4 separate regions of the Homo sapiens genome follow, and regions 1, 2 and 3 are each linked to region 4. The links are contacts of gene promoters, found by promoter capture Hi-C in blood cells and fetal thymus (Javierre and others, 2016). All regions are on one chromosome and are shown on one strand. The core of a region is centred on a gene start or on the middle of the fragment in contact, and the rest is flanking DNA. Distances in the headings are between cores, read along the strand shown. Region 1 overlaps PRRX1 (paired related homeobox 1). Region 2 has its middle 23 kb from the start of MROH9. Region 3 overlaps PRRX1 (paired related homeobox 1). Region 4 holds the start of NTMT2 (N-terminal Xaa-Pro-Lys N-methyltransferase 2).

What was found. Contacts are between HindIII fragments. The CHiCAGO score rates a contact against its expected background, and 5 or more counts as called.
Region 1: a contact is called between a fragment that was not itself captured here and the fragment with the promoter of NTMT2 in region 4, in 1 of 17 cell types (M0 macrophages). The highest score is 6.7, in M0 macrophages.
Region 2: a fragment that was not itself captured here is called in contact with the fragment with the promoter of NTMT2 in region 4 in 4 of 17 cell types (M2 macrophages, M0 macrophages, M1 macrophages and 1 more); the score reaches 10.2 in M2 macrophages.
Region 3: a contact is called between a fragment that was not itself captured here and the fragment with the promoter of NTMT2 in region 4, in 1 of 17 cell types (M2 macrophages). The highest score is 5.2, in M2 macrophages.

The regions. Positions count from the first base shown.
Region 1 is chr1:170,725,907-170,732,574 of GRCh38, reverse strand. PRRX1 (paired related homeobox 1) reads right to left here. Exons shown (of 4, transcript NM_022716.4): 3 at 6,174-6,355. Among named protein-coding and RNA genes, the nearest start is that of PRRX1, 65 kb to the right of the region's middle. The HindIII fragment of the contact is 978 bases long and covers 2,759-3,736 here.
Region 2 is chr1:170,908,771-170,915,510 of GRCh38, reverse strand. No RefSeq gene overlaps it. Among named protein-coding and RNA genes, the nearest start is that of MROH9, 23 kb to the left of the region's middle. The HindIII fragment of the contact is 925 bases long and covers 4,602-5,526 here.
Region 3 is chr1:170,707,606-170,715,418 of GRCh38, reverse strand. The region is part of intron 1 of PRRX1 (paired related homeobox 1); the gene reads right to left. Among named protein-coding and RNA genes, the nearest start is that of PRRX1, 47 kb to the right of the region's middle. The HindIII fragment of the contact is 656 bases long and covers 5,305-5,960 here.
Region 4 is chr1:170,140,858-170,148,535 of GRCh38, reverse strand. It overlaps NTMT2 (N-terminal Xaa-Pro-Lys N-methyltransferase 2), which reads right to left and starts at 2,577. Exons shown (of 4, transcript NM_001136107.2): 1 at 2,275-2,577. The coding sequence starts at 2,428. RefSeq lists enhancers at 1,934-2,464, 2,465-2,996. The HindIII fragment of the contact is 581 bases long and covers 2,471-3,051 here.

The sequences.
Region 1 (6,668 bases), core at 1,998-4,497, 580 kb before region 4:
TGGATCTAGCTTCTCAATTTGAGCTAAGGGTGCCATACAGGCAAGCAGTGAGCAGTCCTTGGATATACCAGTGAAAAGCAAAACTTGTATTACAAGTCAGAAAAGACAGAATTAGTGAGTGAGTACTCTAAGAGTATCTTAGTCATTCTTCAAAAATGGCATTAGAAGTAAGATGCAGAGGACCTGCCTCCTAAAGTGTCAACAGATGCAAGAGAGCCTTGAGTGGCTGCCAATATGAAATTGTTTGTGACCATCTGCTTTCCATGTCACGGAGACTTCTGACGTTCTGCTTTAGGAAAAGAAAGAGAACCCTGAAATGTTTTCTTAAAAGTCCAAAGAGGGTAATTAACTGTTTTCAACCAATTTATAGGGCCATTCGGAACATGTAAAATGACCAGTCCTTCCTATACAGGATTAAGCTTGCTCGGGTAAAATGGTGAGATTGAAGCTAAGTGATTTGTACAGATTAAGCACATGACAACAACCAGAAGCCTGCTTAACAACAACCAGAGATCCTGCCTGTTGGTCTTGCCTTCTAAGTAAAACCCACTTATTCTTGGAAGTGGGGTACAGACATAAGTTCTGGGACTGAGTTTTTAGGCTTTGGCTAAAGCCCCATTTTTAGTTAGTTTTAGTTAAGTTCTTTGTGTCAGTGACCAAGAAACCACATTACTGAATAAAGTGCATTGAGAAATTAGAGATTAATAATAAATGCTTGCACCCCATCTGTTGATTCAGCTAATCTGCCCTGAGACTTACACAGAGCTGACACATTTAAATCAGCTTCAAATGTTTCCATTTACTTGTTTGGAGATTCCTAACAGATGCAACACAGCCATAGAGAGCAGAATGCTAACCACTAGCAGAGGTGGAGTACTGTTTTCACTGGGACAAATCATTTTTTATCATTTCAACCTACCCTGAAAGTTGTGAGGAAAAAAAAATGTGTTAAAATGATTGTCAAACATTGAGGAAGTATGGAAAATACTATTCGTACTACGATTTTAAAGCCAGGAAACGTATGGACAACTGCCCCTCTGCTTTCTAAACACCTATAGTGTTAAGTCCCACAAATCACAAAACAATTGATAGCTTGGGAAAAAAATAATACCTGACTCTATTTTCAACTCTTTGTTTTCTATTTGGCCCTTTGAACAAATGATGACAAGATGTTTACAATTTCACCCTAAAGACAAATCTGTCAGCCGAGAAGTCTATGAGTTTTCCTGAAATCCTTGGGTTTCACCAGCTCAGGATTTTTTCAAAGACTGTAGGGGTTACGGTGTTCAAGACTGTGATGCATAGAAGTTGCAGAAAGTCTCGGGTTTGTTCTTTTGTCAGTGCAAGAACAACGGAGGCATACTTGCTTCACCTGATAAAATGTAATACCAGTTTTCCTAGGGAAATTTACTTTTAAAAAGAGATCTGGTAAATTCTTTGGAAAGGGATCTTTTGTGATTTAAATAACTAACTTCTATTTCTAACTTCTGTTTTGAAATTCAGAAGTTGATTTTCTAATACGTATATTTATCTCTTAAAGTGAACACACTTGCACATTTCATTGGTAAGCTTTCCGTTTGTACTGTATGTTCAGTGATCTTTCTGCTATGTTTAACTTTTCATTTTAGAAATACTTTTATATATAAAGCCTCTTGTATCTTTCTATTGTTGCAAGACTTTTTTTGAAGCGCACACTGCTTATCGATAGGTTCCAAACACCCCTGTGAAATAAGCAATAGGGAGATTATTGCTAGCTTCATGTTAGATACAAAGCTGCATAAGAGAGCAATGATCTGACTGGCCTGAGGAGCAGCAGAAGCCAGGACAAGAACGTAGTTCTTCCGAACCCCGTCCTGTAACCTACAAAGTCTCGCTATTCAAAATGTGTACCAAGTGTCAACAGCATCAGCATCACCTAGAAGCAAGTTAGAGATACACAATCCAAGCTCCAACCTGGAATTAGTGAATCAGAGTTTGCACAGTCACGCGATCCCAGATGTTTCCTGTGCACAGCAATCTCTGAAGAGCCCTGCTCTAGATTAGTATCACACTATGCTTCATTTAGTGGACATGCTTTCTTGCAGCTCTGGTTACCAATAATATTCCTCACTTGAGGACTTCACTGCTGAAATTTCTAGAACTGCAACCCCCACTTTCTTAAACACTCTGAATTCCCACTTAAACCCTACCCCAAGCAGCCACCCTCTTCCCCCTCTGACAAGTTACCTTTTCAGTGTCTTCCGTTAGAATCCGTTATGAAGCCCCTCGTGTAAACAACATCTTGGGAGGGACGAGGATCTATTTTTGAAAGTGTGAAAGGGAGAAATAAGCCAAATGCGTTCAGCAGATGTCAGGCAGCACCATGACCACGATCAAATGAGGGGAGGAGAAGGATGGGGAGGGAAGCTGTGGACAAGGATAGCTGACCTCTCTTTCACTCATCACTAGCTTTCTTTTAAGCCCAGCCCTCCCTCTGGAAATGGCACTTCAGGTAAATAATGCAAAACCAGGCCATTCACTATCCACTTCACCTAGGAAAGGATGTCTCTGAGAAAATGTTTCTTGGCTACTTCATCTCAAATAACAGTCAAAAGTTCAGGACTTGGTTGATCACTGCTACCCACGAAGCACGAAGCAAAGCACTGCAAGATTAGTGAGTCTGAATAATTCTGGTGCTTGTGTGTGCTTTCACTCTTACAAGTTGCCTAAGAAAAATAGTTCTGAGTTAAGCAATGGGTGTGTGTGCCAAAAACAAGCTTCCTTTAACTGGCCACGGATGTAAAGAAGGCACCTGCCAGGACAACAGTGTCCGTGATAGGGAATGCTTTGTCCCTCTGGTGACTCAGTTGCCTGCCTAATGTCATCACCTCTAACATGCTCAAGGGAATGAGTGAGGTCATGACAAGCTATAATTAGAGCAGACTATATGTCCCAGTTTGCTAGGGACAATCCTGGCTTATACCTGTTGTCCTAGTATAATTATTAATAATGCTCCCCTTTCACTCTAAAAAATGTCCCAGTTTGAACAATAAATTACACATCCATGACTCTGGATGTAAAAGACACCCAGAAAAAAGTATGTTGGCTATTTTCCAACCCAAAATTCTGACCATATGCAAATAACTGCTTTTATGCCTTGGTTTTCTCCTTTCTTTTTTCAGGGGATAACTGTGGAAGTCAGCAAAATATCCTTTCTGGCAAAACTGTCGCTCACTGTCTCTGGCTTGTATGACCAAGCCACGTCTATCAGTCCAATGGGATGAGGTCCCCACAGAGTGTGGACTTCAGCTGCAGGCATGCCTCACTGATCTGAGATATCTCTTGCATAAAAAGGGGATTTTAGATAGTTTTCCAATCTTATACTTTTTTTACTACTTTCAATACAATGCAAGGTTTAATTTGAATGAAAATATAGTCGTGTGGCTTAACATGTTGGATGAAAACAGGGAACACAAGCATTAGTTCTAATTCTCCTTGCTGAAGACTTAAATTTGGGCAAGTGTTTAGTCTCTTCTTTGGAAGCACAGCAAGACAGAGCTATCACACAACAGTGTTCCAAGAATTAACCAAGAGAAATGCCTTTTAATGAGTGTCACATGTGAGATAACTAACTTGACATAATAGTACCAACAAGAACAGTGAGTTAATTTTTCATAACACAAAAGTCTATCATTTCCTTTGCTTTGGATCACTTGTTTTTCTTTTTTATTTCCTTAACAATATTTCCTATCAAGCTTCAAAGTGTGAAATCATAACATAGTTTGGTTCTAAACATAGCAGAAAATTCTCCAAATAACAGAATAGCTTTTTGCTACTTTTAGAAATCAACCAAAATATAAACACTTCAGTCAACATTGGATCAAAAAACATTATTATTGATTAAATTATTGTTTTAACATCACTTTTCTGCTTATATCTGAAGATTAATTTATTCTTCATACAGAATATGAACAGATTTTATGATTTTCTAAATTAATTTTTACAAATCCAATTTCTAAGAGAGAAATGATATAAAAGCATACCAAGAAATGAGTAAAATGTACTAGGTCATATGACTTTAAGTGAAAAGAGCAGAATACAAAATAATATATACACTAAAGCTACATCTATATAAAACATTGAACTCTAATCACAAAAATGAATATACTAGTTATGTCAAGATGGTGAATTATGGATGTTTTTAAAAATGTATCCAGTATTTCTACATAATTCTTTCCATTAAAATAGAATATTTCCAAAAAAGGCACGCATAAATTGCCACGTTAATAATTTCAGTTAGATGTCCATATACTAAACACATATGATGCAGACACTGAGGCTCAAATGGCTGAGGTCCAAGTAATATAACCCTATATTAATTCAGGAATGATTTCATCCCCATTCATGCAGTGTGTGCTGTGTGACGCCTCTCACTGGTAAGGACCACGTGGCAGCCATCTGGATTGTTTATGGCTGGTATGAAAAGTTCCTATGGAGGACCCAGACAGAAAAAGGGGCAATACTTCCTGGTTGTGACCAAATTCAAACCAGAGATCTTGAAGCATCAGGCTTTGAACCACACCCATTTTCCAAGCCATTTAGCGTGTTCATGAACACACCAAATTTCTCTTATACCAATGTTTATAAGAGAAATAAAGCAGCCTTTCATTTATTTAAAATATTAGAGAATATGTGATTTTACAGTGGTCTTCAAAAAATGTATTTGTAGTAAATCTTATAGGAGAGGAGTTTAAATTTAAAATAGGGCACACAGATATAACTAATGTTTCAAGATCAGTAAGGCACACCACATCTGAGTGCAATAGGGCCCAGAATAAGACTTTCCTAGATGTAGGGTCTCTATGTGCTAAGACAAAAAGAATTCAGGCTAATTTTATAACAGGGGATTAAAACAAATTTCCAAGTGCATTTACCATGTTTCTCTAAAGGAACTGATTTGGAACAGAAAGAAACTTTTAGATGAGGCTTTTTGCTTTGATTAAAGCTAAGAACCTTTGAAAAACACTTGCATTTCAAAAATGTAGCATTTCATGTCAGAAATTCAACTTCATCTGAGACATAATCTCCTATATTTCATTTAAAACCTCTCCTTAAACCAATAATTAACCTTGACAATAAAAAGGTAAACAAAAGCATAATAAATGAATTTTTGAATAGTTCTTCCTCCACTGAAATCAGCCAGGGAGAACACGTAGGCTTGGCCTGGTTTCTCAGAGTACTCAGGTATATTTTCAAAGAAAGTCACTCTAGACTAATCCAATGGGTTAGGAATTTGTGTCTCAGCTTCCCTTCTGGCAGCCTATATTTTCTGAACAGCATAATAATGGGAGGTTAAAAGCCTCTTTATGAGATTGAAATAGTACTCTGATATTTGTTTCTTTAAAAATGTTCAACTTTTTAATATAAAAGTTTAGTGTAAATTATACATTCCTTTTTTATTTAAAAGAAACACACACAGACACACACACACACGCACACACACAAATACACACAAACTGATCCCCAGAGAAAACTTCAGACAAGTAGACAAGAATTAGCAATAGATTAGGAAGGCATTTGGCATTATAAGAAATTCACACCTACTAACAAAGAACCTTGGCCATGAAAGTGATCAGAATGAACTTGGCTTTTCTTTCCTCCTCTCTCTGTCATAGTCCCTCTCGTCTCTCTCCTTCCTTCCTTCTTTCCTTTCTTTCTTCCTTCCTTCCTTCTTCCTTTTTTTAATTCAAAGCCAGTTTTACTGCAAAGTTTGCCTTTGGCCCTATACTTGGAGTTTTACAAGTTACGTCCCTACATTTGCATAATACAACGAATTTAGCTTAAATTTGGAAACAGGGTAAAGTTTTGTTCCAGAATTGTTGCAAGAGGAACACTGGGCACAGCTTAATGATCTTTTCTTTTAGATTCTTCCTCATCTTTGAAACCTTTGCAAGAGTTCCTGAGTCCAAGAGGAGATTGGTGAGATAGCCTGCCCCTCTCACTTCTGCCCCAAACCCTGCTGCTGGGGCAGCTTATAATCTCCTGGGAAAATGTGGGGATGTCAGCAAGTTGAATGTCTCTGAAGAGATTAACCCAGTAAGAAATGTCGGTGAGCTGCACAAGCAGCTTGAAACATGACCGACCGCTGAGAAACATGTGGAAGTGGAGCAAGGGAGAGTGGGCCAGTCATTCACCTGTACGGAGACGCTGTCCCCCAGGAGAGATAATCGGTGGGTCTCGGAGCAGGACGAGGTACGATGGGCTGCTCCACAGCAGTCACGTCTCCTGAGTAGGATTTGAGGAGGGAAGCGTTTTTATTGGCTAGCATGGCTCTCTCATTCCTGCGGAACTTGGCTCTTCGGTTCTGAAACCACACCTGGAGGATTGTTAGGAGGCAAGAAGGCATAAGGAAAGAGAGGAAAAACAAAGAAGAAGGGGTTACATGAATGAAATTCTGCTTGATTTTACTATATAATGCCTTCCCAAAGAAGATATAAGATGGCTATGGAATTCTCCGTAGAACAATAGAAACATGCCATCCGCCTTCCCTCAATGAGGGCCATTCTTAAAGGTCAAGACTATTACAACAAGACCATGAAATTCTCCAGTAATCAGGTCTCCAGATATGGGATCTGTGACTTACCCACGGGACAGCAAAATATGGGTTATAATCCCTGTTACAATTGTAA
Region 2 (6,740 bases), core at 3,815-6,314, 760 kb before region 4:
GATATCAGCATAATTCCCAGGAAGGTCCAGAGCCGGATATCTCTGAAATGAACTAGAAAAACTCTTATATTAGATGGGATTTATAGCCAAAAATCCCATATTCTGCTGCCATGTAAAGTTAAAACTTCAGAGAAAACCATTGGCAACTTATTTCTCAGAATTTACACACACACACACCAATATACATACATCATACACACACACACCTCATATATACATACATCATACATATGTACACACACTTGGCTCAACACTTTGAGACTATAGGACTTCTTTAAGAAAAGTACCACATTTGGTCAAAATTTTGGGGGACGGGGATTTTTTTGGTATCTAACTGGTAATGCTTTTCATTCTAGGGCAGACAAAATGAGAGGTTCAAAAGCCCACTCGAAACATTATGTTTTATGTGGGAGAGGGTGAGGGATGCAGTGGTGCGGAGACAGATTGAGAAAAAAAAAGAGGACAACGGATATTTTTTTTTTCCAGAAAATAACACCAATTGACTGGCTTCCCACAACTGAATATCCCAAAGCCTAATAGATAAACGCATGCCTACTGCAAAGCAATTCTGAAGCTAACCACTCATAGTTAATGCAGACTTCACAGATTAAGGGCACAGACCCCACAGGTGTCCTCACATCAGATATTGGCTGCAAAGTCTGTGATTCCCAGGAAACTGGCACTTCTGATCAGCTGGCTACAAATCTGGGGCTTCCTACTAGTCCCTCAAGTTCTATAATTCACTGGAATGACCCACAGCACTGAGGAAACTGTTATACTCATGGTTACAGTTTTATTATAAAGGATAAAAATCAGGAACAACCAAAAGAAGGAACCTATAAGATGAGGTTTGAGGCCGGGCGCGGTGACTCACGCCTGTAACCCCAGCACTTTGGGAGGCGGAGGCGGGCGGATCATGAGGTCAGGAGATCAAGACCATCCTGGCCAACACGGTGAAACCCCGTCTCTACTAAAAATACAAAAAATTAGCCGGGCGTGGTGGCAGGCGCCTGTAGTCCCAGCTGCTGGGGAGGGTGAGGCAGGAAAATGGCGTGAACCCGGGAGGGGGAGCTTGTAGTGAGCCGAGATCGTGCCACTGCACTCCAGCTTGGGCGACAAAGTGAGACTCCATCTCAAAAAAAAAAAAAAAAAGTTTGAGAGGGTCTCAAATGTGAAGTTTCCATGTCCTCTGGATGTATCATCCTCCTGACACATCATTGTGTATTGCCAACTAGGAATCTCACTTGACCATCATTGTCTAGAGTTTTTATTGGGGGTTTTATTTCATAGATAGAATCATTGACTATACGATTAAACTCATTCTCTAACACCCTTCCCTCCTTGGAAGTCAAGCTGATATCATGTGGCTCAAAGCTCCAACACTCTAATGACTTGGTTAGTGTTTCTGGTATGGCCAGCCCCCATCCTGAAACTATCTAGGAGCCCACCATGAGTCATCTCATTGGCATAAACTCAATGTGGTCTCAGGTGCTCACCAGGGATAACAAATACACTTTTGTCACTTGGGAAATTTCAAGGGTTTAGAAGACCCTTTCCAGAAACCAAGGTCAAAGGCCAGACATATTTTTTATTATACAACATTCAATCTGAACCATTGCAGCCCAATTGAAATTATATAGGGAAGTAGTGATGCATAGAAGGGAATGATAGGGTTTCATTACAGCTTGAGTGTGCCCTGTTTAAACAAAATCTGATGTATGAAAGTCAGATTTATAAAACAAAGTTATTCTAACAATAAAGAGAAATTATAAAGTAATCATATGATAGATGGCATAATATGTAGTTAGTAAATTGGTGCTCAAAAAAGGTTAAAGGCATGAGAAAAGTACTTAGATAATATTAAGATATACTCTGTATAGAGAGATCAAACAAGAGCAAAAATAGAGTGAAAGAATATTAGCAGTGACTATAGTTGGCAAGTGGTAGAAAAGAGTGAAGGAGGAGAAGCTGTAGGGAATGACCTCTTCAGGAGACTCTAGGTCCTGTGTTCATCTGGTAAGCCCTGGTGGCAGCAGGCTTCAATGTCTACATAGCTGTGAGTTTAACATGGCGAAGCTTTGTGTCCTCCCCTATATATCAGTATCAGATAGAAAATAAAGCTTCTACCTGGCCTACTTGAAGGCAATGATTATAAAAAAAATGACTATTTTATGTTTTTATTTCCATTGACTGTTTAACTGGTTTAATGAGAGAGAAATTTTATCATATTTTATGATTTCTTTTTCTTATATCAGTTTTTATTTGAATATTTCCCAAATTTTCTACTGTAAATGTGTATTTTTCTCTAATAAAAAAAATCCATAACATACAAAATGGTAACATGGGATTAAGATGTTTTATTGACCTATTTTCCCCTTGTTCTTATAGAAAAAATATAAAATGACTGCTATATTTTCTACAAGAAAAATTCTTTACGTTTATAAAAGCACCAGTAAAATGTTTAAAAAATAGAAAGTAATTACAAGGTTGACAAAGTTTCAACTTAGAATTCCCTTCAAAACCAAGCATTTTAAATGAATATTAAATGTGTCGATGTGCAAAAATGTACTTTTCATTTGATTCACACACCTGTTGTATCATACTACATACATTTGCATTCAAAATTTTATTATTTGCTACATTACTTTGGGAGTAAATTTTCCCACAATTCTGAGGCTGGTAGTAGAGTTGCTACTCAATGCTGTTAAATTAAAGCTACAGAGTTTACATTTCTTTGAAATGTTAAAGTACAATTCTAAAATAAGGAATTGTTATTCTTATATACTGGACAAGAACACGGAGTCCTTTCCAAAATTTGTCCAGTGAAATATTGTCAAATCAAGATTACTGCATAGTAGAGAGGAAATAAAATCGTGAGAAATCAAAATGCATTTTCCATGTTTCAGATGCAAAATCCTTTTATAATTTTAAATTTAATCTTTTATTCTATGTTAGGTTTTTGTTAACTTTATTCCTTCATTTTACCACTGAACTGCAATGATTAGCTTTATAGCATATCCCTAAGATCAACTCCCTTAAGTATCTTTCATTAAGTTACTTTTGACACAACTTAAGTAGAAATTAAGACTCTTTCATTTTTAGAACCTAAGCTAAAACTTTTTTCCTTGCCTATCTCCTGTACTCTTTCCTTATTATACCTTTATTTCAAATCCTATTTTGTCAGAATGAATATACAAGGGTCATTGTATAAGGCAGCAGTTTTCAGAGTGTCATCAGCACATCCCTGGAGGTCCTTGCAACTCTATCAGGAGGTCCATGAGGTCAAAACTGTTTTAATAATAATGCACCGATGATGCAAAACCATTGTTGGATAAAACTGCTAGTCCTTCAGCATGAATCGACATAGGGCACCAAACTGTACTAGTAGTCACCACATTATCCACTGCCGCATACATACAGTAAAAACAAAACAAAAACAAAAACAAAACCCACCAAAACCTCCCCAAAACCTAACCAAACAAAACAAGCAAAGTCAGCAAATGAATTTTTAAATATTCTATATAATGAACTGAGAAATACATATAAAGTACTTCTGCTACATGGAGAAATATGCTAGTTTCATATTTTCAAGGAAAAGCACTTGTGTGAGTATTTGAATTGTGAGCTGAACAGACCACTCTATAAACTCTTTTTTATTATTTGAATGAAGCAATGACAGACTACAGTTATTCAGACTTGGGTATTTGGCAGACATTTTCTCAAAAATGAATGATATGAGTCTGTCACTTCAGGGAAAATAAGTATCTGTTGCCAATGATAAAACTGAAGTTTTCAAGAGAAAATTAGAATCTTGGAAAATGTTATCCACCACCATGAGTTTGACAGCTTCCCAATACTGAAAAACTTTTCTGATGAAATTGGCAGTGATATTAATAACTGTGATTTTGCGTCAGCATTTGGAAGATCTGCATAACTTGGTAAACCAGTATGTTCCAAATTACCAACGTATAATGTTACAAAATCAGACATGAGTGAAAGGTCTCCTCAAAGTGCAAGACAGACAAGTGGATTTTAATGTAACAGAGCATGCAAAGTTTATAGGTATAGTTTGAGATTGCACATTGCAACAAACCTTTTATAAATTATTGCTTATCAAATTTTATCGTAGTAGCAAAGAATAGTGACAAATGTCTGAAAGGATATGTAGAGAGACATGATGTCAAGAGAGACTGTAAATAGTTCAATCATTGCTAGAACAATGGTTCTCTTGCAAGCATATTTGCCATTGGGAAACGTTTATAAGACAGTAAAATCTTTTGAAATTGCTGCTTAGTTTAGAAAATGCTTCGCTGTGTGCCAGTGGTCTCTATGAGTAGTAACTGCTTCATAGTTTTCTTTCCCATCAACAATTTACAGGGTGAGGAGACATGAAAAGGGTTTCATAGACCTTTGTAAAGGCCCATTTTAATCAATAGCACCTTTGAAAAACAATGTTTTGAATAATAGCTTCGATTTTGAATTCCTTGTAAACATTTCTGTAATTCAGCCGCTGAAATCTCCCAAGAACAACTTTTAAGACAGAGGTTTGAATATGACTTTGAAATATTCTTTACCTCCCAAATGCCTCACAGATTAAAGCTTTGTTCTTGGCAATGCAAGAAATTTACAGTCCTTCTTGAAAACTGTTGCTGGGAAAGAATATGCTTACTTTGGATGTTCCTTGTGAACAGTTAGGACACTCAAATAAAACAAATATTGCCTTAGTTTCAAGGCAAATCAATGATATTTTCAGATACCTCCAAACAGACCTCAGAAATGATCTGTGTCACTGTCATTACTGAGTTCTTGGAGTGACCATACAGATAGGTCTCAACAGCCATGAAGGGTCAAATAAGGGAGACAACCAGAGTCCTAGAGGCTTATAGGCCTTACTGCCTACAGTTTGACCTCCAAAATCCTTTGGAAACTTGACCTTGCAAAACAGGATGAATGATGAAGAATGACTCAATTTCCTGCTAGCCAGGGAGTGATGCTCTGGTTGTCTGCTTCAACCCTTGTCAACCCCACTGCACAGATTTCTTTCTATGTTTCTCAATTTTTAGAACCACTTTACAAATCTCAAAATAAGATGCCTTGCAATTATAGTCATAATTGGTTTCATGAATGAATGTAATTTCCCCACAGATGCAATGCTGAGATATGAGACACATCACTTGTCTTACTGGAACCTTGAGATCTGGGTTCTGGGGACCATTTAATTGCCAAATGTATAATTTTTAGCAAATTACTTGACTTCTCTGGACTCAAGTCTCTCTTCAGTAAAAGAAAGAGATAAAGTAGATTAGTTTAGTTACAAAGTTCCATAATTTATGAAAACTGCCTGTGATAGAAAGAGGTTGATAAATACCTCCACATAAACCCACTCTTCCCACCCTTGCAGACCTAAGTGTAAGTTATTTTTTGCTGTGTCCACATTTGGTCTCAAAATCATATTCTTCTCAAGACTCTAGGAAGCTACTACCAAGTGATTGAAGTTGGCACAAAGAAAAGTCTTCCAGTTAAGCTTTAAAACTAATTGCTAATTAGGATAACTTTGCTTTTAAATAGCTAACATGTATTAGCACATACTGTTTATCTCTCACTGTTCTAAATGCTTTATATGTATTAATTCCCCGAATCTTGGCAAGTTTGTTAGCCAAGTACCATTATTATCCCCATCGTACAGATGAGGAAACTGAGGCACAAGAAGATTTATTAGTCACCATAGTCCCTCAGCTGGTAAGTAGTAGAGTTGGAATTTAATCTCAGGCAGTTGATTCCAGAGCTATATTCTGAATCACAACACTGTACTTTGTTCAATCTTCATTTCTGCCTGTTTTTTCCTTCTTTTTACATTGTTTATTATGGAAACATTAAAACATATATGAAAGTAACAAGAACATTATAATACATCTACGTATACCTACCAACCCATCTCAATAATTATCAAACATGACCAAACATAATTTATCTATACATCCCTTAATTACCTTCAGTTAGATTATTTTGAAACAAATCCTACATATCATTCATCCACAAATCTTCAGTGTGTGTCTCTAAAAGATTTCCACCACTATTATCACACCTAAAACAATAGACAAGTAATTCCTTAATTTGATCAAATATTCAGCCAGTATTCAAACTTTCCTGATTATCTTATTTTTGTATTTGTTTTGTTTTACAGTTTGTTCAAATCAGAATCCAGAAGTGTTTACACATTGCCTTTGGTTGATGTGTCTTTTAAGGATCTTTTAAACTACAGGTTTCTTCTTCCTCTTTTTTCCCCTTGACATATACTTGTGGAGGAAACTGAGCTGTTTATTCTGAGGAAAAAAATCTTTAGAATTTCCCATAGTCTGGACTTTGTTATTGCATTCTGCAGTGTCACTAACATGTTCCTCTATGCCCTGTAGCGTCTATAAACCAGAAATTTGATCTAGAGGCTTTATAAGATGTATTTTGGCAAAAATACTTCACAGATAATGTTGTGAATGTTCTAATACATCACACTAGTACTCACAAAATGTCAAATTGTTACTATTTTTTGTGATATTAAGATCAGTGGGTTCAGGTACTATCAGCCTGAGCCATCTACTATAATGTTCTCCATCAATTTTTCATCTAATTATTTTAGTATGTATTGATGATCACTGTTTACCTCCAGTATTTTATTATAGTTTGAAAAATGGTGATTTCTAATTATGTGATTTCCTTCTTCATTTGTTAGCTAAGATTCTGAT
Region 3 (7,813 bases), core at 4,383-6,882, 560 kb before region 4:
CTGTAAATATTTTGTCACCTTAATGTATTCAGGTATTTCTATAGAAAAGAGATAGGATTCCTTGACATATTACATTACAGTAAAAGTTGAAAGAGTTATAGTAATGTCATGGTATAGAAGCAGTCCCACAATATTAGAATTTTAGTGATTTATTTAAAGTTTTAAAGGACTGAGTAATTTCTGAATTCTTTTTAACAATACATAGCAAGTAATTATGTTAGCATTGTCTTTTGTCTCTGGATAGTTTTACCCACAGAGGAAAAATTCTTTTGCAGTGTTTCTTTATCAGATAGGATAGTCACCAGATTTAGAGAGGGAAAAAGCCTTGTGGTCTGATTCCTCTGCAAATGTAGGAATTATTCTTTCATTTTTATCTTTTACTAGAAAAGCGGCTGCAGGATACATGAATTACTTAAACCACCAAGAAAATACACAAGAAAGAGGTACTAAAAGAGATGGGTGTTTCTAATGGATCACAATGTTAGAATACATATGAAGAACTTCTTGAGAAAAGAAGACTGTAAGCCCAAGGTAGGCTACCCTCTGTGCATTCAAATATGAGTTAAAGAGAACAATAGCCCTGACCTCGGCTCTAGTATGAAGTTCACTCTGGACTCCTCATGTGGCTGCTGAAGTTGCCCTAGAGGGAAGGTGGAGAAGAAGGCATAAAGTGCCATCCTCAAGCATGGGGACCTGACAGCATGTGGTGATCCCTATTCACTAAGGCCTTGCTCTTGCCATGCAAGCTTCAGCTAACTCCAACACCCCTCACCCTCTTCTGCTCTGCATCCTGTGGGAGGAACCTTAGAGATTCCAAATCATTGGTCAGCCAAACGTAATTTAAAGGTACGGAAAAACATATTTTAGGAATAAAATCTGAAGAAAAATGCGTTTCCTATGCCTGGGTCACATCAGTTTGGGAAAAAATCTGATGCAAGAAGATAAAATGCCAGCTCCAGTAGCAGAAACCAACTACCACATCAAAGTTTGTCATCTGCCTTTTGGTTGAAAGCATGGCAGGCAAGCGGATCTAAAGTGCAGCCCGCTGATCATTTTATGGGCATTGAACAATGTTTTCAAAGGAACTTATATTGCACAACAGCTACTTACTTTAATGGGATTTGTGTGGTTCAGGCCCCGTAACCTTTGGAAAATTGAAAGGAAGTGTAATTGCAAAAGCCACTAAAAACCGTTTAGCTTTTATTGCAAGGCCCATGAAAAGCAGTGAAATAGAGCTGTGGCATTCATTTGAGTTTCTTTGGCTACACTTAGCATTAACTGAAATTAGGACAGCATCTTTCTAATATGTGTCCTGATAAATGGCACATGGGTCACTTAACTGGGAAGATTGTTGCAATATAGACTGAGCTTAGTGCATCACAATGACCAAAGCCAAGTTTAGCAGCACACACACATCGTCTCAACAGCATAGCCCTTCAGCGGTCCTCCATCATTGACTCCCAGCACGTATCAAGAGCGAACAAATCTCTGCCAATACAAATACCCAACTGTGCAGCTATTGCGCATTATCACAGCACAGCTACCTGAACTATAGCCCACTAAAGCCCCTAAACTTTGTATGGTCGTCTTTACTGTCATCTTGGTATAGACTTGGTTCATTTTTAGTCAAGTATCAGACTAAGCCTTAGCAAATAGAATTAAAACATCTTATATGTGATTTGGGAAATGACATATGTTCTCTGGAGAACAAAATGCTCTAAGAAGTGTGAAATTACATTATTTTGCATGGTTTTGATCAAAGAGATGAGTCAGTGGCTCTGTGTAAAGCAACAGTGGTTCTGTGTAGATAGCTCAAAATTTAACTTTCTCAATATAGCCAACCCTCCTTTCAAGTAGAAAACACTCAAGAATGTGAGGTACTCTAAGGTGATTTGCACTGTTTTTAGCTTCTTTGTTATATATTTCTTTTCACCTCTATAGAACAAATACTTTTCTATAGCGCCAAAAATGTTAACACAATCCATATCACCTTAAGCGCTTTAACTCTCTTAAGACATTTTCCTTAAAGGATTATTGATCAGAACCCCTGAGAATATCCAACACAAAGCAAGGTTTTCCATGTAGTCCCATATTGGAACTGTACTTACTTCTGAGGCTATGTTGATAAATCTCCCCACCCCACCGCATTATGTGGGCATTTTCCGTGTGATGATGAATCTGTTTTAGGCTATAACTCCAGAGCACAACATTTGTGTTTGTATTTAATTGAAGCTCTTATCAATGTTCAGTAAGTGAATAATCAGACATGAAATACTACTACTAATAATAATACTAATGTATTCCTGAATCCATAATTTACTAATACGAATAACAATAATGTATTCATGAATATGTTAGAATTCTTACTGTAAGAGATGCATTATTGAACAGAGTACCCTCTCTTTGATAAAGACATGAAATTCTGGCTTCAGATATGTAAGCTACCTCCAATTTTTCTATGGATGAATTACCAGTTTACTCATTTTTTCAATTCATTGCAGGATGCCAAAAAAGGGGAAAATAAGAATCTTTTTGTCAGACCCAACTAGCTATAATTGGGATGGAAGCATAGTTGGAAGTGGAGTGGAGTAGAAAGTAAACCAGCTTAGAAATAAGAACAACCTTTGTTCTCATACAGATCCTGCCACTGACTAGCTGTGTGGCCTTGGATAAGATGTTTCACTTGTCTGAGCCTCAGTTTCCAAAATGATAAAATGGGAGTAGGATCACCTGCATCCTGGGGTCATTTGAAAATTTAATAAATGCATAAAAGGCACATAGGCTGACACATAGTAGGCATTTGACAAGAGGTGGATTTTACTTCTACCAGTGCTACCATAATGTGTTCTCAAAAATGGGCTGGTCAAGCCATTGCTGCTGTACCTTTACTCTTCTGCTCACTCTTTGTTGTTATTTAGCTGTTCAGTAAGATTTCTATCACAAAATAACTGGAGAGAAAGTGAGAAAGCCATTCAAATACGTTTATATGGCTCGGTCATGTTTGATGGAGAGCATAACAGAACTAGGAAACTGGAAAAATGAATAAAAGCTTTAAAATTCAGCAAGAACTGAGATATAGGGTAGACTCAAAATTGCACAAGGATATATATCATGCACAGGTGTTTGCCCCAAAAGTTCCATTTGGGGCATTTTTTTGCTATTATTCAATTCTTGGCTTTCTAAAAAGCCAACTTGCCTTCTTAAATTCAAATTTTGGAAAAAAAATCTAGAAAGCAAATAGATTCTAGTACTCAGACGGATAAGCAATTGGTACCTTTAACAAGTAGTCTCACTAGAAATTAGCTTCAGAAAAAAAGACAGGAAAGAAAAGAAAGCCAAGAGCTAAAGACAGGTTATGAAAATTCAATTATTTCCCAGCCTATTTGCTTTTGGTTAACTAATTTGGTTGCCATATGCCTAAAAACACAACAGTTGAGTCATATTACTCACTATTTATTCAGTGACTCTTTTAAAAAGAAATGTCTGATTATTTTGGTAAATTCCAAAAGGATAAGAAGAAACCAAAGTTCTGGGAAAAGAGTGAGTTCTGACTGAGATATTAGAAGCTTTCTAAACTTGCAATAATCCAGATGTGTGGTCCCCTTGGAAGTGCCTGGTATTTGACTAGGAATTTGACTAGGATTACAAACAGAGCTGAGGATGAGGCATATCCTCTTGTCTTCTTCTGCTGAGGTTTTTTTCCCTTTGCACTGAGACTGCTGTCACTTCATAAAAGAGACAACATCAATCTTGCCATTACCAGTAGAAACTAGTGTTTTCATGAGAGGCAAGCATCATATGTCACCTTTTTCAATGATTCCTTATCTTTTTGGTTATAATTTTTAATGTTCTAAAGAAAAATCTGGTAAGCACAGGTTCTAAAAAACCAAGACTGGAAGCAGACAGGAATGAAGGAGATGTACATAGTTAATGAGTAAGCTCAGCTCTTAGAAGGACAGGAGTGATGGAGCAGAGCTTCTCTGCTTAGATAGAAAGACAGCTACAAGGCATTTGAACTTATGAGAACAAAAGTATGACTTGAATTTTCTTATAATTTTTTATCTTGTGTTAAAAGGACAAGGTGCTTATAGCAGAGAAAGCCACAATAACAGAGAATTAGCTTTCCATCACAGTAAGAGATAGAACCAAAGGTAATTCTGTAACACTATATAGAATAAATGAAGAGGGCTGAAAAGGATATCAAAGTTCTTCTTGGTGTTACTCTGGTCTTGGATGTCAAATAAATCTGAAGATGAAAACATGCTAAAATGGTCAAAATAAGAAGCTTGATATTTTTAAATACTTTTTAGATGAAATAAAATTCTCTTTAAAGAACAAAAATTCAAATTTTGTTTAAAAAATAAGAAAAGTCGAAGTGTAAATAGTGGCTTAAAGCTTGACTTTTTTGAGGAAATTACCATTCTTTAACATCTGAAGCTTTCAATTTCTGTATCTGTAAAATGGGTTGTTGGCTTAGTCAGCTCAGGCTGCCAAAACAAAATACTATAGACTGGGTAGTTTAGACAACAGAAATATGTTTCAGAGGCTGGAAGCCTCAGGAAGAGGGGCTGGCCTATATGGGTTCCTGTTGAGGGCCTGCTTCCTGGCCTGCAAACAACTGCCTTCTTACTATATCCTCATATGGCAGAGAGAGCAAAAGAGAGCAAGCTTCCTGGTCTCTTCTTATAAAGACACTAATTCCATCATGAGGACTCACTCATGTGACCTCATCTAAACCTTATTACCTTTCAAAGGTCTTACTTCCAAATAGTGTCACACTGGGGGTTACGGATTCAATATATGAATTTGGGGAGGATGTAAACATTCAGTCCATGACAACTGCTTTAAGATACAAGTGATACATATATTTTTAAATGATACAAATTGTGACAACTAGCTGTACACATTTCCTTATATTTTATTGTAAAATATGTATTATGGAGCAATAGTGGAAATGGCTTTGGATTGGAAATAAGGAGACTTTGATTCTAATTCAGGGGAGTTACTGGGAAAGCCTGTGATGTTAGCCCTCAAGTGTCCTAACTGGCATAATTGTAAGTTGGGCTATGGGACTAAGATCTGTTTCAAATTCAGCATTGTGGAGTTATAGGATAGTTTTTACACTTCCAATGCCTAGCCTAATAAAAAACTTTCAATAATTGCTCATTTAGCATGATGACTGAATTATATTCTTTTGGTGGTGATGGTGTTGGTGGTGTGTTTTTTTACTTTTTTGAGAAAAAGTTAGGCTGGATTTTATCTTGCATAAGGGCTGTAATGTAATTACCAGGCCTGAGGAAAGCTTCAATGATTGACATATTCCTCCATGCCCACAGCACTCTGCAGGGATAAACTCCAGACTGAAATCAATGTGAATCTTTAGAAGACATTAGTTTACCTCTAACCACAGTCTAGAGAAAGAAGAAACCTAAGATGTTTTTTAGAATAACTATAAAGAGTTATTCTATCTTCTAAATTTACTAAAAGGAAATAAGAATAGCTACATACTTCATTTCTCTGCCATCCTTGACCTCTTAACCATGAGTCAAGTGGCGTCAGCCTTGCTGCAAACACTGCCTATATCAACCATTTTAGGGTAATCCCAAAATGGATGCCACTAACAATGGTTACATTCAATCTTGACTTTAGCATCCTCCCTATCACTTTATTCATTCATTTGAACAAATATCTATTGAGCACCTACATGCCAAGCGATGAGATGCTCTGAGTAGAGAGAAATGTTGTATGTTGTCTGCACTTCAAGATACTTACTTTCTAACTGATCTGGAGAAAGAAGTCAAAAGCACTTGACAAGTAAAGTAATAGTAGAAAAAAAAAATATTCCAGTACACTTGGTGACCATCAGAGCCAGGAACGGGCCAGGAAGGAGGACAGATATACCAAAGAGAGTGCAAGGTTAGAAAACACTGCATGGGCCTCTCTTTGTCATACCTGAAGCTTAGCATCCTTTTCTCAGCTGATCTATTATTTCTCACCCAATCACTCCACTCTAGTTGTACTGCTAATGGTGATAAAAACATAATTTTCTTGTCCTTTTCATTTATACTTTTCTCTGACCTTGTCTTTCTTTGCCTAATAACACATCACAGACCTTACCCATACCTACTAACTTTTACATTAATGGCCCCTTCTCCTTTCCTAAGTCTCAGCTGACCTGTCAGTTCTTTGTAGGAACCTTCTGTGATCAACAACCAGAAGTAGTCTTCTCACTATTCTTCATCCAGCATCTTAACCATTTGCTTTATAACACTTATGACAGTCTGTAATTATTTATGTTGATTGTCTCACACTAGAATATAGCTTCATGAGGGTAGGCACCTTACCTGACTTGTTAACTGTGCTATCCCGGCACCTGACATTAGTCTTCCATATTTTGGGTACTTCTCTTAGAATTATTAAATTAATATGTTAGACTCTGCTTGGTGAAAGTGCCTACTCTGAACAACCTGGTCCATTCACACTCAGCCACCAAACCTGACCACTCTTTCAGGGATCAGTTTCTGTAATAAGGTCTTGACACACAAAATTTCCTGCTTACTGCATTTTTGTAAGGCATGTAAATTCCAGGATCAAGTGTTATGCAGGTTTCTCATGCACTTTCTCAGTGAATGACTTTGCAGCAGTAATTATTCTGATTAGAAAGTAAGCCTTGAAGGCAGGTGAACAAAGTGTGTAGAATAGAGCCCTAAACCTTTTAGTAGTGCTCAGTAAATGTTTGACTTTGATAATGATGATACATATGGAATTATTGACCATCTTGCTCCTAGAAAAGACAAAGGAAGTCTCAAAAGGCTTGACCTGATACAGTTATTTCTATGTTCCAAAAAACATATTTAGCTTGAGGTTGTATTTTCTTCTAGTTAGTCATTTCCAGTCACCGTGTTTTCTGTTCCCTTTCTCTGGCAAAGGAGCTTGGGCAAAAGCCTGGCTAATTCATTCTCCAATATACAGGAACATTACGGCCTGTCAACCACACCTAAGCCTTAATTATATGGTGATTTCCTCTCCAAGGATATGCGACTGTTTTAACTAGTAAGGAAGCCGATGCACTAAGGTCATATGAGAAAAAAAAAAGTTACATTTGGGTAAAACACCCAAAAATTCATGTGGAATAATCTTATTCCATTGAATCATGTCCCCTGTTGTTGAACAGCCCTAAAGAAGTCCTTGTTAATAGTCATTCTGTCTGCCTGGAGTGGAAATCTATGAGTAATCTGTGTGTCACTGTGACTCATGTCGTGACCAGCACTTCCAAATCCTCATCATCTGAAATCTGGCAAGAAGAATTTACACTGCTCAACTCATAACAGGAAGAAAGTAGGATGAAGGAAAGACCTAAGAAAAAGTTGTATTGATTAAACATAAAATGATAACCAGAAAAGGAAGATAATCAAGGTTAAGGAAGGACAATGACTCTTTAATCACCATCTGGGTCATTCTCTTCCTTGGCATCTGTTTCCAATATGACTTACATGACAATTACAGATATATTTCCTCATATAACCTTGGGTCTTTTTTCAGGTTTTCCCTATTTCTAAAAATTTTCCAATTTTTAAATTACTTTGAAAAAGGACTTTGATAGTAATATGTTGAACCAAGAACAAGGACAAACTGGATATACTAGTGTTTAATTCCACTGCAAGAGCATTTCCAACAATTGGTAAAAGTTTCATTGACAAGCCTTCTTATTTCTTTTCTTTAATCTATTTGATTAAAATGGCACAGGGTATAATTATGTGGTTAATTTACTCAGAAGTCAGCACCTTTAAAATAAAGCATCCTAGGAATAAAC
Region 4 (7,678 bases), core at 1,328-3,827:
GGTCAGAGAAAATAAGCAATGCCCATTTATGGAAAGCTGCAAATAAGTAAAATGAAGGCAATGTTGGCTTGGGATAGACTAATGGTTTTCAAACTGTGTTTATGGAACCCCACAGGTATTAGAGAAGTGCCTCTGGACGGGCGGATCACGAGGTCAGGAGATCAAGACCATCCTGGCTAATACGGTGAAACCCCGTCTCTACTAAAAATAAAAAAAAAAAATAGCCGGGCATGGTAGCGGGGGACTGTAGTCCCAGCTACTCAGGAGGCTGAGGCAGGAGAATGGAGTGAACCTGGGAGGTGGAGCTTTCAGTGAGCCGAGATTGCACCACTGCACTCCAGCCTGGGCGACACAGTGAGACTCCATCTCAAAAAAAAAAAAAAAAAAAAAAAAGGAGTGCCTCAGGAGACAGTGGTAAGTCTAAGAGAATAGACCAAGGAAAGGGTCCTGCCCCCAATCCTATGCAGAAAAGTTTCCCTTTTTCCTGTATTTTACATTGGGCGTCAGTGGAATATTTTGTCAAAAACTTTGCCTTTTGATAATAATGTTTTTTTAAAAGGTCAAAACTCATTGGTAAAACATTAGCATATTTACAAAGGAGAAAAACACAAAATCAAAATGATTTTATTGAACAAAAAAAGGGATTGAGACTAAATATAAATTATAGTCCATTTGTGCCAAATTAATTTTCATCTGCTTTTCAGAAGAGACTATTGTATTCAACTTTTTAACTCATCTTCAGCTGCCTTCAAAGGTGACTTCTTTTTCTCTCTAGTAAATATTTTTAAAGTTTGACAGTCATCTGCCTGTTAGTGACTCTCTTCTCAGCTGTTGTAATTGATATCTTTCTCCAGTCTAATAAAACCAAAGCTACCAACCTACTCTTATTGAGGTATGGCCTGAAGAGTGTCTCCAGAAAAGCAATGCTTTGCCAGTATATGAAGTGACTAGAACATCATCACCTTCCATTTAAACTGCTGTATTTTTTTTTCCTTTTGGATATAGATGAGATGTATTATACGTCCTAAAAGAATTACTCATGGGCAGTGTGATCTACCAAAAAAAAGCCCTGGACTTTGGTCTTTGCTTTCATATTACTCTATCTAGATTAAATATCATCATCTCTGAATTTTACTTCCCTCCTTTGAAAAAGTAAAATGAAAGGAAGAAGGAGGGAAGATAGGTAGAAAAAAAAATGATAACTTACCCTATCTATTTCATAGTGTGACTATGAGAATCAAATAAAGTCATAGACGATAAAAAGTTTTAGAAAGAAGTTATATAAATATGAGATGAAGGTATTTGTATGTTTAGAATTAAAGATCCCTCATAAATGGATTTACAAAAAGGTTTTGGTAGGCTGCTAACATTCGGTTGCTTGAATGCAATACAAAGAATTATGTAGCTGCTTCGACAGCTGGAAACCCTGACCACATCAAGTGCACAATGGGGCTTTCAAACGACCTTAAGAAAACAGACTAGGCTGATACACAGCCTTCTTGCTTTCACTGGGGGAAAATACAAATCAAAGGGAGAAGGGTATTTTACTCTTTAATGGTAAGTTATTTCCTCTTCAGTGCTGTTTAGGGTGCCCTGAAGTAACTGCTTTCACAGAGGCTGAAAAAAGTAGAGTAGGCAAAACAGATAAGCTTTTTATTGCTCTATTGTCCAATTCTCTGAAAACTAGAGGAGATAACAAAAATGGAGACAGACCACTGACTTCTTAATATTCAAAAACCAAGCTAAAATCTCCTTTTTTTAGGCTCTCTGACTATTCTTGTGATTCAAGAAGACCGCAGAGGATTGTAAGTGTGTACACAAGCACAGACACAGAAACATACATACATAACCCAAGCACATTTTGATCTATCATTATTTAGTCTTTCTTTTTAACTCTTACTCAATGTATTAATGCATTAATACTCTCATCTTTGAATTATCAAATTTGCCCAATTACAATTTTTTGTAAATATTAAACATGTCTGAGTTTCTACAAGCCTGATACTCATGCAACAGACACCCAGAGAAGCAAATCACAGTGCCTGAGGGTGCATGGAAATCCCAAAATAAAGTCCTGACTCTATTTTAGGCACTTAATCTTTGTATTCTCCATAAAGAATTCCACTGAAACATTTCAGCCCAGTGACATTGGTTGTGGAGTTTTTTTTGTCTGAAAAGTGTCCTTGTTTTAAATTCTCTTCTAGAAGCCCCATGACCTCATGCAATCCCATCAGTCATTTCTTGTTTCTTATCTAGTAGCTCTGACTCACTTACCCAGGGGAATTTTTTCCAGCAGGTAGAGATAGCTCTGAAAGAAGTCATTGCGAATGGCTTTGTGAAGGATAAAAGACATGCTATGTCTACAGAGTTCATCGTCGGTCTTCTGCCAGCGGGATCTAAAGGCAAAATGGGCTCCCCGGTGGGCCATGACAAAGGGGGATAATAATGATTCCTACAGAGAAAGGAAGCTTGCCTTGCTGTTTCTTTGAATTAGCCTTCTCTTTCTAAATGAACTTGAGACTGTCATTTTAAACCAGTCCCCTCTCCATCTATATCAGGACAGGCTGTCATGGGTGTGGGGAGGAGGGGCAGCACACAGTGGGAGGGGAGGGCAGGCTCTTGGCACGTCCCTCCGTCTGATTGCTTGGGTGACACCACTCCAAGCCAGCAGGTGCTAAGTAAGGATGAAAACTGGCTGAGAGAGATCCTGCTTCATCCAGGAAAAAGCACGCCTCTCTCCTTTAGCCACCACTTCAAACAGGCAAGAGCACAGCCTGCTAACACCCTGAATATTTGCCTTAATTTGATTTCTAAATTGGAATAGCCTAATTTCCATTTCAAAGAGTTGTGAATATTTTGCAAGAGATCTTGTTCCCTGATTTCCATCACTCCTCGTAGAACACTGAATCCTCAAATTACAAGGACCCTTCAAAGTCATCTTAGCCACTCATGCTCCTTTCATCAGTACAATTTCTCCCAAATAATTTCATAGAAATGTGTATGTGTTTCCTATTTTGAAGGATCTTCAAGAGAAGCAATTATTTGAAAGCTTGTTTTGACGTTAAATATCCTTCTCTGTCAGCAAACTCTTCCATCTAGCTTGCTGTAAACAACAACTATTCATGTAAGCCTGTTTCTTCCTCTCTGCCTACTCTGAATATAATTTTCCTCTTAAGTACATTTGTTTTCTGTACCGGGTATCTTCTGATTGTCCCTCCGGATACACTCTCCACTCTTCATACATTACTATGTGTTCCCCAGGAGGCTGACCTACATCAGTGGACTCCATTGCCCTCTAGCTTCTAGTTGGCTTTAGCCAATGGATAGTGCCAGGAGGAGACAGGAGGAAAGTGAGGTCAAGGTATTTATTCCCTTGGCACCTTCTCTGTGGAAATGCCATGAGCTGACCATATCCTTTAACAAAAGGTCATACGTCTGACCAGGGTCTTCTCATACAAATATCCTCTCCTGGTTCTGTTCATTTCTCCTTCACCTGACTGCTTGAGGCCCAGGGGGAGTGATGTATCAGGTGACAAGCCCAATTCCTTGTAATTTTCCTATACTTGCCCACATATTTGTAAATAGTCCCTTTATTAAACCAGTTCGAATTCCCAATTTGTGAATTCCATCTGTTCCCTACAGGGACCATGACTACTGTTTTCCTCCCCTTATGTTCCTAACAGGAAAATGTGTAAGATCTCAATACACTATTGGCCCTATGCCATGTGCACCCACAGACCCCCTGCCTGTACATATACACATGCTAATATACACAAATGCACACATTATGGTAGGCAACTTCTAATGTGACCCCTGTCTTAGTTCAGGCTGCTCTAACGTATTACCAAAGACTATGTGGCTTAAACAACAAACATTTATTTCTCACAGTTCTGGAAGCTGTGAAGTCAAAGATCAAGGTGCTGGCAGATCCCATGTCTAGTGAGGGCCCTCTGTCTGGTTTGCAGATTGCCCTCTTCTCATTGTGTGCTCACATGGCAGAGAGTTAAATCAAGCTCTTGTGTCTTTTCTTATAAGGGCACTTATCCCCTTCATAAGGGCTCCACCCTCATGACCTAATTATCTCCCAAAGGCCCCCATCTCCAAATCCCAACACATTAGGGCTCAGAATTTCAACATAAAAATTTTGATGGAACACAAACATTCAGTCCACAGCAGTCCATAAGAATCCCCATCTTCTTTCTTCCTGGTATTCACCTCTTCCTGTAATCCTCTTTTTTTGAGTATAGGCTGGACTTAAGGACTCACCGCTGAAGAATAAAATATGGTGAAAGTGATGAGATGTCACTTTTAAGAAGAGGTTATTAAAAGATTGTCTTAGGTGTCTTCTTTCTCTCACTTGCTTGTTTGCCATGTGGGAAGACTGCTGCCTATTGTGAGTGGCCATGTGGAGAGGCCTGCATGTCAAGGAGCTGAAGTCCTAGGTCAAACAGCCCAGAAGACACTGAAATCCACTAACAACAGTGTAAGTGAGCTTGGAAGCGAATCCTTCCCCAATTAACGGTTTGGCTGCAACTTGATGGGAGACCCTAAGTCAGTTATGTCATACCCAGGTTACTAATCCACAGAAATGTGTTTATTATTTTAAGCAACTAAGTTTGGGGATTATTTGTTACAATGCCACAAGATACAATGAATTCATACATTGTCCATGAATTTTTTTTTTTTTTTTTTGAGACAGGGTCACGCTCTGTCACCCAGGCTGGAGTGCAGGGGTGTGATCATGGCTCACTGCAGCCTCAATCTCCCAAGTCTCAAGCAATCCTCCCACCTGATTCTCCAGAGTAGCTAGGACTATGGGCATGCATCAGCACATCTGGATTTTTTTTTAATTTTTTTTTTTATCTGTAGAGACGGGGTCTCGTTATGTTGCCCAGGCTTGTCTCAAACCCCTAGCCTCAAGCAATCTTCCCGTCTAAGTCTTCCAAAGTGCTGAGATTATAGGCATGAGCCAGTAAGCCCAGCCAGAATTTTTTGAAGATAAACAATGTAGCCATAATCTTTTTTTAAGTTTTATTTGTGTGTCAATCTTTTACTGAGAGAGGAAGTAAGGATTCCAATTATTTGACTCTGATTTATTTTCCCTCATCTTCTTGTGCTTCTGTTTTGCCATTTTCTCCCTCTCCAGGTAAAGGGACAGCCATTCAATTTTGGTGGAATTGTCCCCATCCTTGGCTTCAGTAATTGCCCAAACTGCAGTTCAAGTTATCCATTTTGCCCCTCCCACAGTTTGTGGTACACAGATGGGTATATCATCCACGCCTGAGCTGGTCAGTACATAATGTTACCCTGGTTCCAGTTTTCCTTTTTGAGTGGGCACATTATCTAAGTCTGTTATTGTTAATGCCAGCTTGAGTTGAGTTTTCTGTACTAGCAACATGGAGTTTTGTCTAATACAAATACCATCCTGAATCATTTTTACTCAATGAATTCTCATGAAGATGAAGATAGAGTAGATGACATCAAACAGACCAAAGAAACTTCTGGTGTGATTATTTCATGGTATTAAGAAGGAAGGGTCTTACCTGGAATTAAGCAGATATGACTGAGTTAGGAATTCATTGCCACCACTTATATATGGGGTTACCTCAACTAACTGATTTCTTAGTCTCTCTGAGCCTCACTTTAATCTTCTTTAATATAAAAATGATGATAATAGTATATGTCTTACTTTATTATTGTGAGGGCAAGATGAAATAATCCATGTAAAATACCACAGTGCCTAATACACAGTACATGTTCAGTTATTATCATCAGTTAACTATTATCATTACAATCCTTTGGAGTAAGCTAATAATAAGTTATAGGTCCTCAAAATACATGATGTCTATCTGGTTCTTCTTCTGTTGTATTTAAGTAATTCTAACACATATCCAGATTATTTGTACTTAATGCATTTAAGAATTGAAAAGAAATCCAAATGAAATGTGTTGTTAGAGCTCATTCATCCATCCTTTGGAATTTTTTGTTGCTGTAGTAAAATAAATTAAGTAAAAGAAGAAAAACATGAAGGGATTCTCTTTTGTTACTTATATTCATCAATACGTTTAACAAGAGGTGTGTTCTTAACCCCATCTCAGTGATGTTTTGATGACCCCTCCTATGCTTAAAAGGTCAGGATGTTTGGTGCTGGGAGAGAGACTGGCAATCACTGGCTCAAGACGCTCAGTATTGCTTATTTGGCAATTGATATTAGCAAGTTTCTCAGTTTTTACAGAACTAATTTTCTTCCACTATAAAATGAACATTAATTATTTGTGTTTGAATGAGGATTATTAAGTGTTCTAAGATTCTATATTTCATACCCATAATTCTTGAGTGGGGTGAAAGACTGATTGGTTTCTACAAAATGCCTTTGTCAAGTTTTGTTTATCTCTGTAGGTCACATTGGATTTTGTGACTGTTTCTCATACTGGTATAGCTCGAACCAATTTCTGGCTCATTGCGTTTGTTTCCTTATGCCAATATTTTTTCTCTCAGAGCTGCAATGCTCTATTTGCTACCACCTCACACCATTCTTGGCTATGTTCATACTCAGTAAATGAGGTTATGATATAGATCTCAAGTCTACCAGTCATCAATTTCCAGGCAGGAAAGAAAAACAATGAATGCAGAAGAAAGAAATATGACTCCAGCAAGAGAAGGTAGAAACTCTGAATTTATCCATTTTGGTTTTCCATCTCACAGGGGATCCCTTGGTGGGCGGGGGGTAACTACTGTTAAAAAGTAAATTATCATGAAGAGAGAGTCAGAAGTAAGGAAAACAAAGAAAGAAAAAATGCCATATAAAAAACATACTCATTCAGTAGTACAACAAGCTAAATGTTTGGGAACATCCACTCAAAATAAAATACCTATCAAATTAAAATATCATAATACTTTAAAGGGAAATTCAGCATAGAGGATGAAATAAGGATATTTTCAGACAAAGAGAGAATTTACCACTCATAGGTGCTAACTGGAAGCACAACTAAAAAAAAATCTACTTCAGGAAGAAGGAATTAATACAGGGTGTTATTAGCACAGGAATAGGTAAAAAGATTAATAAAACAGAATACACATAGAACTACAAAACAAATCTATTCATATATGGTAAGTTGACATAAGACAGAGATAGTATTGCAGTAGAGAAAAGATATTTTCAACATTGGTCCTGGTGCTGGCATAATTGGGTCCCCATCTCACATCATGCACAAATCTAACCCAGGCAGATTGAAGATTTAAATGTGAAAAGCAAAACTCCAAAATTCTTTGAACGTCTTATGGGAAAACATCTTTATGATAACAGAGTAAAAGAAGGATAACTTTTTTAAGATTCAAAAAGCAAAAACTAAAGAAAAAGTATAATTAATTAGACTACATTGAAATTAGAATGGTGAACTTTTGTTTATCAAAAGAAACCATTGAACAAATGGGTAAGAAATACTTGTACCACCAATAATTAATCAGAAATTAGTATACTAAATATATGAAGAGTTTCTATGAATAAATAAGAATAATACAAACAATTCTATAGAAAAATTGAAAAAAGACATTAACAGGTAGTTCACAGAGAAGTAAATAAAAATACAAATGAAACATTAAAAAAAGGCTAACCCATTAATCACCTAGAATATACAAATTTTAATCAAAACAGGTGCAGAGTGAGATTTGTGAAAAT